Regions from separate parts of the Homo sapiens genome. Here region 1 is linked to region 2. Evidence: promoter capture Hi-C in 16 types of primary human blood cells and fetal thymus (Javierre and others, 2016). All regions are on one chromosome and are shown on one strand. The core of a region is centred on a gene start or on the middle of the fragment in contact, and the rest is flanking DNA. Distances in the headings are between cores, read along the strand shown. Region 1 overlaps TTC21B (tetratricopeptide repeat domain 21B). Region 2 holds the start of PRKRA (protein activator of interferon induced protein kinase EIF2AK2).

The links. Contacts are between HindIII fragments. The CHiCAGO score rates a contact against its expected background, and 5 or more counts as called.
Region 1: a contact is called between a fragment that was not itself captured here and the fragment with the promoter of PRKRA in region 2, in 1 of 17 cell types (non-activated CD4 T cells). The highest score is 5.6, in non-activated CD4 T cells.

The regions. Positions count from the first base shown.
Region 1 is chr2:165,946,222-165,951,143 of GRCh38, reverse strand. TTC21B (tetratricopeptide repeat domain 21B) reads left to right here. Exons shown (of 29, transcript NM_024753.5): 2 at 1,420-1,549; 3 at 1,640-1,750. It overlaps TTC21B-AS1 (TTC21B antisense RNA 1), which reads right to left. Exons shown (of 4, transcript NR_038984.1): 2 at 3,803-3,947; 3 at 3,219-3,256; 4 at 2,823-3,109. Among named protein-coding and RNA genes, the nearest start is that of TTC21B, 5.1 kb to the left of the region's middle. The HindIII fragment of the contact is 1,308 bases long and covers 841-2,148 here.
Region 2 is chr2:178,447,762-178,452,426 of GRCh38, reverse strand. It overlaps PRKRA (protein activator of interferon induced protein kinase EIF2AK2), which reads left to right and starts at 1,252. Exons shown (of 8, transcript NM_003690.5): 1 at 1,252-1,461; 2 at 2,016-2,185. The coding sequence starts at 1,397. It overlaps PJVK (pejvakin), which reads right to left and starts at 1,049. Exons shown (of 7, transcript NM_001042702.5): 1 at 658-1,049. RefSeq lists a silencer at 980-1,759 and an enhancer at 1,522-2,096. The HindIII fragment of the contact is 1,572 bases long and covers 820-2,391 here.

The sequences.
Region 1 (4,922 bases), core at 245-2,744, about 13 Mb after region 2:
ACTTTAGGGAATGGAGCATTGGAGGAAAACTGTGTTTCACTGAAATGTGTTGTGGGGGTCTGGAGATGGGGTATGGAGCACACTTTTAAGAAACATGGCTAAAAAGGAGGTTAGGGAGCAGTGATCACAAGGAGGGAGGCAGAGTAAAATTACAGAGAACAGTCGCCTAACTGATCTAGAGAAGTACATGGACTATAGCCCTCCAGAAGCAAGAGACTATATAAAACAGAGCTGTCGGACGGGCGTGGTGGCTCACGCCTGTAATCTCAGCACTTTGGGAGGCCCAGGCGGGTGGATCACTTGAAGTCAAGAGTTCAAGACCAGCCTGGCCAACATGGGGAGCCCCATCTCTACTTAAAAATACAAAAATTAGCCAGGTGCGGTGGGGTGTGCCTATAGTCCCAGATCAGGAGGCTGAGGCAGGAGAATCGCTTAAACCTAGGGGGCAGAGATTGCAGTGAGCAGAGATTGCGCCACTGCACTCCAGCCTGAGTGACAGAATCTCCAAAACAAAACAAAACAAACAAACCAGAGCTGTCTAGATACCCTTAGATTTCAATCCTGTCACTTAGTCACCTGTATTTCTCACTGCTACTGAACAAGCTGTAGAGTCCAGGTAGGTAGGTATGGGGTGGCCCAAACTGCTTTCTGGTGAATCAGGTGTATCCTAGTGATGGTGGGAAAGTGTGGTTTCTGTCTTTGATGAGGTTAGCAACCAAGCCTTAGACATAATCGTAGGAAAAATGGTAGACAGCACAGGCCCATTTTTATTCAGAAGTTAGTAGGTCCTGATAGTAGTTTTGTCTTGTATATGGAAATAATATAACTTTGGAAAAAGCTTAAAGACAACGATTTTCATTGAAAAATAGTTTATTTATTCTTAACTGACAATTTATTTGTCGCAGAACTCAAAGCCGAGTAAGATAACATTTGATGATATGTTGAAGAATTAAATTTGTCATTACTTTGTAATGCTGTAATAAAATACTGGATATTTTAAAAAGAAGATTTTTTTTTTTAAAGAAACCTATGGTCTGGCAATGGAAGCCTCTTGTCTTTTTTTTTTTTTTTTTAGTTCCTGTTTATTGTCTGCCTTTCTGTTTTCTAAAACGTTCAAGAAAATGTGGGCAAAGGAAAAAAGGTGAAAGCAGCCTCATTTCGGTGCTGTTAACAAAAACTTAGGAAAAATAATTTAAATTATTAGAAAACATTGAATTATTTCAGTAATTTTATGATCATTCAGTTCTGCAATCCTTAGCATTGAGTTCTAGCCATTAATAGTATTTTAAGAAACTTGGAAGAAAAAAGTCACATTGCCTGAATTTTACATTATTCTAGATGTTAGATTATTATCTGCTTCTTAGAGTATTTCAGAGCACCAGAATTCCTTTATAACATTTTTTCATTATTTCCATTTAGACTTTGATTAATTACTATTGTCAAGAGAGATATTTCCATCATGTATTACTGGTTGCCAGTGAAGGAATTAAGAGGTATGGAAGTGATCCAGTCTTCAGGTTTTATCATGCCTATGGCACATTAATGGAAGGTACGTGTTAATCATTAAACATGTTCCATCAGTTTTAAATTCTTGCTTTGCACTAAGAACAGTTTTTCATATCATAATCTTGATTTTCAGGTAAAACTCAAGAAGCTCTTCGAGAATTTGAGGCTATTAAAAATAAACAAGATGTATCACTTTGTTCTCTACTTGCACTGATATATGCCCATAAAATGAGTCCTAATCCAGGTATGATATTTAAATGCAATGCTTAGGACATTTTTTCCTATTCAGTTTATTTTTATTTTTCTCAGTTACCAAGTCATTCAGTCTGATCACACTATATTATGTATTTTCTGTAGGTACAATTTATACATATGTTTATCTTCCTGACAAGGGTGTAAATTCATCAGGCACAAGAAATGTGTCTTATACTATTTTCGTGTTCCTTATATCCTCTGGCAGAGGTTTCATTAGTACATAGGGATTTTTTTAGATAAAAGGGAATGTATATTAGTAATTGTTACACAAAAAAAGGACAGCCAAAGAAACAGGTACCGTATGTACATAAATTGCTCTGCAGCAGCCAAGTTTACAACTTTTGTGCAAATATACAGCCAATGCAGTTTATTTCTGTATATTAAGCTTATTGAGAGCCTTAAAACCCTTTATGAGGGCTAGCTCTTGGGAGATATTCAGCAAATTTTTATGCAGTAGTAGGTTGACTAGATTCTGACTAGATTATAGAAGGAAATTTATACATAAACCAGCAATTAAAGTTGTGTAAACTGCCAGGCACAGTGGCTCAAGCCAGTAATCCCTGCAACTTGAGAGACTGAGGTGAAGGATTACTTGAGCCCAGGAGTTCGAGGCCAGCCTGGGCAACATAGTTAGACCTCCATCTCTAAAAAAAAACAGAAAATAAAAAATAAAGTTATGTGAACTGTCTTAATGTATAGTTAATGGCGAAGGCAGAAGAGTATCCAAATTGTATGTAATAAAGAAGAAGTAGTGTTATATTCTTCCATAAATATATATCCAGTAACAGCTAATAGGATTGTAAATATAGATTGTGTTTCAAAAAATTACATAATAAACAAAGGTCACAGACTGGTTCCTTGAATATTAGACGAGACTTTTTTCTAAAGCCAAGTATGACATACCTCCTTCATACATATGCAAATCAATACAAAGTTATTTAAAACATGTAAATATGTGCTTAATTTCTTCAAGAAACTGTGCCTAATACAGTTACAAGCTACAAAAGAATTCTAATAAGTGGTTCATGTCATCAAGTTGGTAATCTAGTGGAGAAAACAAAATGTAAAAAACACAAAGATTAAATTCCAATGTTTCTATTAAATAATACAAAATGAAACATGAGTTTATAATTAATTGAAGTTGGTATGCACTATTCAGCTGTAAGAGTAGGCTGAGAAGGCTTTTGAAATTTTGGAACTTAATCTGATCTTTGAAGGACTGGTAGAATTTGAATATGAAGAGTATTGGCCAGAGAGGAGAAATGGATGGGCAAATACATGGAAGTGGTTCAGGATTAGGCTCTTCTGTGGATCCCCTTTCTCCGTACTCCAGTGGGAGTGTGTTTAGCTAGAGCAGAAAATTTTCATGGGAGAGCTGTAGTTAGTATAGATTGAAGAAATTAGTACAAAATAATTTATTATTAGAATCAAGTTTTTATTTAATTGGTTATTCTTACCAGTGTTGATTCTGTTGGACACTGTGATTTGCAGGACACTGAAATGACAGAATCAGAAATACTGTTCAGAGGAACCTGAGTGCTAACTCTGCTTTGCACCAAGGATGATGCTGAATGGACTTGAGCTCTAGTAGGGGCCCAGATGTCTGTAAATACTGCCTAGGAAAGTCCTAGATTGTTAGTATACATTCCTTCCAGGATGCTGATGTAAATAAACCCTGCTTATAAAAAGGCTGCGATCTTTCAACAACTTTGTGCAGACGGTGTTAGAGCTGATTGATACCTCATTAGGGACGTGATGGAAATCTGAGTAGGAAAGATTTCCTGTACAATGCCTGCTTCTGCCTGGTGGTTGTTTTTTTTGTTTGTTTGTTTTCTTATTTCTGTTTCTGTATCATGGCTGTTTAATGAACACTTCTGAAGGGGTTGTAGGGGTGGGGAGTGGGGAGAGGAGAAAAGGGTCTTCTTGCTAAGCAATCTGTAGACTTACAGAAACAGTTTTGTTTCCTTCACTCATTAGATTGTACCTTGTTAATTTCACATTTAAATTTGTATCATTAGAGTTGAAAGGAAGAGTCACATACCTTTCTCTTGGTAGCCATTCCAGAAAGAGAACTGTTGGAATCACAGGCCGCAACTTACATTTCTTCTTCCTCATTGCATGGCTGATTCTGATTCTGATTCCATCCAGGGTTTGGGTGTAATTGACTTCTGTGTCCTAAGCAGATACTAATATATATATATATATATATATATGGGGGAGGGGAGAGAGAGAGAGAGAGTGTATAGACTTAATGTAAGTGAATAGAGTTATCTATTTAAGGGAGCAGTCAGTATTAAACTATAACAGCAATTATGCCATCTTTTTACTGACCCATAACAGTAGCTGGCATGTTTATATATTTTAGAATTGTATTTAAGAATTATTAATACGTTGAGTACCAGTACTGGACCTGTTCCTAATAATTGTGGTTAGAACCATTATACATTTTTATAAGTCTTATTATTAAAAAATATTAGTATATACAGCCTTTCTATTTTGGGAATGATGTAAACTCTATAGCTATATTGTGCATTACAGTGATCCTTAACCATATACCTCCTCTGTTGCCCAGGCTGGAGTGCAGTGGTGCAATCTAGGCTCACTGCAACCTCTGCCTCCTGGGTTCAAGCAATTCTCCCTGCCTCAGCCTCCCAAGTAGTTGGGATTACAGGCACCCACCACCACGCCCATCTATTTTTGTTTTTTATTTTTAGATGGAGTTTCGCCATGTTGGCCAGGCTGGTCTCGAACTCTTGACCTCAGGTGATCCACCCACCTCGGCCTCCCAAAGTGCTGGGATCACAGGTGTAAGCCACCATGTCTGGCCATATACAGCTTTTTTACCAAGTTTGAGGAACTGAATTTGAAATTTTATTTAATTCTAATTAATTTACTTTTTAAACTTAAAAATGATACTTGATTCAGTTATTAGAAAACTTATTTAGGAGTAACTTGAGTCTAAAAATCTGCTTTTCAGCCATAAGTTTTATGAAAACTACAAATCAAGTATTTTTAAATAAAATTTAACTTTTTTTTTTATTTTTGAGTCGGGGTCTTGCTCTATCACCCAGGCTGGAGTGCAGTGGCGCGATCTCTGCTCACTGCAAGCTCCGCCTCTCGAGTTCACGCCATTCTCCTGCCTCAGCCTCCCCAGCAGCTGG
Region 2 (4,665 bases), core at 3-2,502:
GAGAGAATAGGCTCTAATTAAAGCATCAGATGATATAATTTGATTAGATTCTGAACATCTTTCACTTGTTTCAAGCATCCAGGGCTTACATGCTAACAAAACAACAAATCGCTTTTTTTTTTTTTTTTTTTTTTGAGAGGGAGTCTGACTCTGTCGCCCAGGCTGGAGTGCAGTGGCGCGATCTCGGCTCACTGCAACATTTGCCTCCCGGGTTCAAGCGATTCTCCTGCTTTAGCCTCCCGAGTAGCTGGGATTACAGGCGCATGCCACCACGCCCGGCTAATTTTTGTATTTTTAGTAGAGACAGGGTTTCACCATGTTGGCCAGGCTGGTCTCGAACTGCTTACTTCAGGCGATCCGCCAGCCTCGGCCTCCTAAAGTGCTGGGATTACAGGCGTGAGCCACCGCGCCCGCCCATAAATCACTTTTAATAATATCCTTTCGTACGAATAGCATTGTGCAAGCAATCTTCCATAACACCGAGTAAGCACAGGGGAGCATTTCTGCTAGTGCCTAGCAAGCCCCTGGAGAAGCGACACGTCATCTAATGGCCCACCAAAGGTGCTGCATCCCAGGCAAACGCCATTACAACCGACTACCCAGGTCCCCGGAAAGGCCTTCGTTTACTCCTAACGTGTTTTGCTGGGATGCACTGACCCAGCGTTCCATCTCGCGACGAAAGCCCAGAAGACAAAGGAGCCCGCCCGGCGGGAGAGGAGCGGGTGTTTGGACGTCCCCGCGTGTTCCTAAACACAGGGCTCGGGGACCCGAAGAGCGCACCGCAGCCCCCTGGAGCGTATATATCCGGGGTCTCAAGCTTCAGGACCAGGCCCGGGAGACTCCCTGGAATTCTGCCTTCGTAATTTTAGAATCTTTTTCTTAAAGTGACCCAGCCCCCAATCCGTCCTCCCCACAAAGGCTTAACTTTAGGCCTCAACGACCCTAGACCCACGCCGGACAATCCCTCTAATCCCTCTCTCCCGGCAAGAAACGGCCTCCTGCTAAGGACAAAGAACTGCGGCCTAGGGGCCAGTTACTACAGGCTGGTCAGGGCCGGCAGGGGCGGGCGCGGAGAACCCCCGGGAGCCCAATGCCTGTGCCCACGCGGGAGCGGGGCGGAGCCGGGCGGGAAGGGGGCGGACCCTGGAAGGGACAGGGGCGGAGTTGGGCCGGGACGGAGGCCCGCAGAGGAGCAGCGAGGGGGCGTAGCCGGAGCTACGGCACCAAGGCTCCGCCCCCACCCTGCCTGCCCCCTCGCTGGAGCAACGCAAGCAGGAGGCGGGGGAGTCGGAGGAGGTGGCGGCGCTGGAGCTCCTCCCGGGGACCAGCGACCCGGGGAGCGAGCACGTCGCTCCGCACCGCTCTTCCTCCAGCCGCTGAGCCGTCCCTTCTCGCCATGTCCCAGAGCAGGCACCGCGCCGAGGCCCCGCCGCTGGAGCGCGAGGACAGTGGGACCTTCAGGTCAGCGTGCGGGCAGTCAGGGCCCCAGGGCCGGGAGCGTTGGGCGGCAGGGCCGGGGCGCGGGGAGCCGGCCCTCCAGAGGCATTCTGGGTAAAGCCGTGCCCGGCGCCCACGCCTCCGCGGCTGTGGGTGCTCGGCCCCGCCCTCTCGGCGGCGAGGGTTGGGGTCTGCGGCCGGGCCCCGCCCCTCTCGTGGTCCCTGGCGGCGCGCGGGGCGGGCGGAGGTGACGCTCGGTCGGCGCGCCCGGGAAGGGATCGTCAGGTTTTCCCTGAGAGGCTGCGGCGCTGCTGCCAGCCCTGTTCTGTTGAGAATCTCTCCTACCCGCATTCAAGTGCTCTCTCTAAAGACCTCGCTCACCCCGCCTGCTCCTGCGGAGTGACTGCCGCAGCGGGGCCGGAAGACAGGTGCGCCCCAGCCTCGCCAGCTCTGGCCCTGGCCTCCGGGGAACTCGGCGCCTCCCTCGTCACCGTCGGTGGCGGTTAAAACTGGCCTCTACGCTTCTGCTTCAATCTCCAATTTGGCATGCAAAGCACACCTTTTTGTGGTTTTTGCAGTTTGGGGAAGATGATAACAGCTAAGCCAGGGAAAACACCGATTCAGGTATTACACGAATACGGCATGAAGACCAAGAACATCCCAGTTTATGAATGTGAAAGATCTGATGTGCAAATACACGTGCCCACTTTCACCTTCAGAGTAACCGTTGGTGACATAACCTGCACAGGTCTGTATACACAGTTAACCTGGATGACCGAGTGGGTTGGCAGTCAATACTTGGTGTTGCTTTTCAGTTCGGAAAAGTTCTCTTTTTGCCAGACAGCTGTGAGGAACAGGCTCTGAAACTGAGACCTCTCATCTCAGGTCGTTAGGGCTTTTCAGCTGCATCTGATTCTCTTCCTAATTTTCTCTTCCCCACATACCAAGGAAGCTTAGAAACTAAAAAGTTACCCAGCCGGATGGCTGGATCCTGCATGGCTCTTCTCATACCCTAGGATCCTCCTAGGGTTCTTCTTAGAATTAGAGGGAAGCAGGAAAGGTTCTTGGAGCAGTCATAGCTGGGTCAGTAGGTACTGTGAAGTTTCATAGATTATAGCGGATGCCAGGAGGCATGACCCCAGAATTTTCTGAGCGTCTCTCCTCTCTGTATGGACTCATTTGGCACTTTAGGTCCATTGTGCTACTTTTGATTCTGTATCCAAACAAAATGAGGAAGGGGAGAAGGTCCTCATATATTACATAATAACTTCTAGTTTTTGAAACTGAACAGATATTTTGTATATTATCCACTTTTTAAACAAGAAGAAACAGGTTCAGAGAGATTATAAGTAACATGCGTATAGCAATGAAGTCACAAAGCAATGAAATTTTAAAGTTCATGCTTTCTTTTGGTCTGTGAGCTTGAGCAAATGATAACTAAAGTTGCTCATTTGTAAATGTGGACATTATTTTTCTTATGTATCTATTTAATTGCAAACACAGAAAACATTGGATGCTAAATTTAATTTGGAAGAATGCCAAGAAAAAAATTTAGTAGGAAGGCTCAAGTTCTACCATCTGGAAAATCTGAAGACAGCATTTGTTTGTGTCCCTGGAAGTTTGGAGTCTTTTATTTTAATTGATGCCACTTTAAGAAAAGTTTAAAACTTTTTGTGTGAGGCAGTTAGATTGTAGGTGCTGGCCGGAAGGGTCCCCATGGGAACCATAGAGTCAACACTGCATTACTTACTTTAGCTAGTCTATTTCTAGATAGGAAGAATTCAAGAAAAGGGAGGGTTTTTCCCTCTCAATGTGTTTTAGACCCCAAATTAACAACCTATGGCAACCGTTCTGCCTACGCCCTCTTCTCACACTACCATGGCTTCCTGTGCAAGCTTATCTGCCTCCATGGCTTCTGATACTGTCTAAAGACTAATATTCTGAAATGTCTGTCTACATCCCAAGCCCAGTTACAGAATAGTGTATCAGTCTGTGCTTGCTGAGCATCTTTGCCTGGATGACACAGAGGCCCCTCAAGCCTCTCATTGTCCCAAACTGAATCCATCTTTTCCCTCAAACCCATTCTTCTTGCATTCCCTTTCTATGTAAAGGCTCCACAATCACCTAGTTCAGTAGAAATGTAGGCTTTTGTCTTCCTAACTACTTCCCGTCTTTCTCCCTCTTGTCCAGTCTGTTATTAAACTCTATCCATTGGCGTTTAATAATCCACTAACTATCCATTGAATCTGTCGGCTTCTCTCTTCTGGCCATTGCTACTGCCTAGGCCACCATCATCTCTCACTTGGATTGTAGCTGCAGTCTTGTAGCTACACGTTTACCTTCTAGTCTTGTGATGTCCTTTTGTCACATTACAACCAGTGTTCATTCTTTTTTTTTTGAGACAGGGTCTCACTCTGTCACCCAGGCTAGAGTGCAGTGGCATGATCTTGGCTCACTGCAACCTCCGCTACAGCCTGCACTTAGGCTTGTTGTAACATATCCCATTCCATACTTCAGGTGCCTATTAACAGACAAAAATCCCACACTACTCTGTTGGCTCTTGAGGGCAGGGACCCTGTATGCTATATCCCTAATACCTGTGTTAGCAGATAAATATATGGTTTCTGTGTCTTCTTACACTTGAGGGCCACACTTGAAGGCCACACTTGAAACTTATTCCATGAGGGTATGGGAGTTTGAACTTAAAAGGAAAAAGATGGAATTTATCATTTGCCATTGTGATTGCTTACTGAAATTAGACATCAGTCTTATCCCCAGTCCCAACTTAGCTACCCATGCAGAAGATACAGACCGTCCAGAAGATACATAACAAGCTGTCACCTTATTCCATAAAACTCTTTCCTGTTGTACCCAACACATAATCATGACTGCTCAGCCTAGCAAAGCAGTTTGATACGTTATAGGACAGGCTGTCAGAATAAAATTATGCACATTTTGCTATCAAACAATTCTGCTGTAAATGGTTCCTTTAAAAGAAACTTCTTGCTGCAGAAGAATTTCCCCTCCAGGAATAAAGGAAGAGTAAAATACTAATCTGCATTTCTTCAGAGGTGTGACACGGTCTACTTTATTACCATGTTATATAATAAACATATATAATGTAGAAATAAGGATTTTTATGCAGGTATGCATAGAATTATATAGAACTTTAAAAAGTTATTTTTTAAAATTTTTTCACATGGTGAATATTTTATTACAGTATATAAC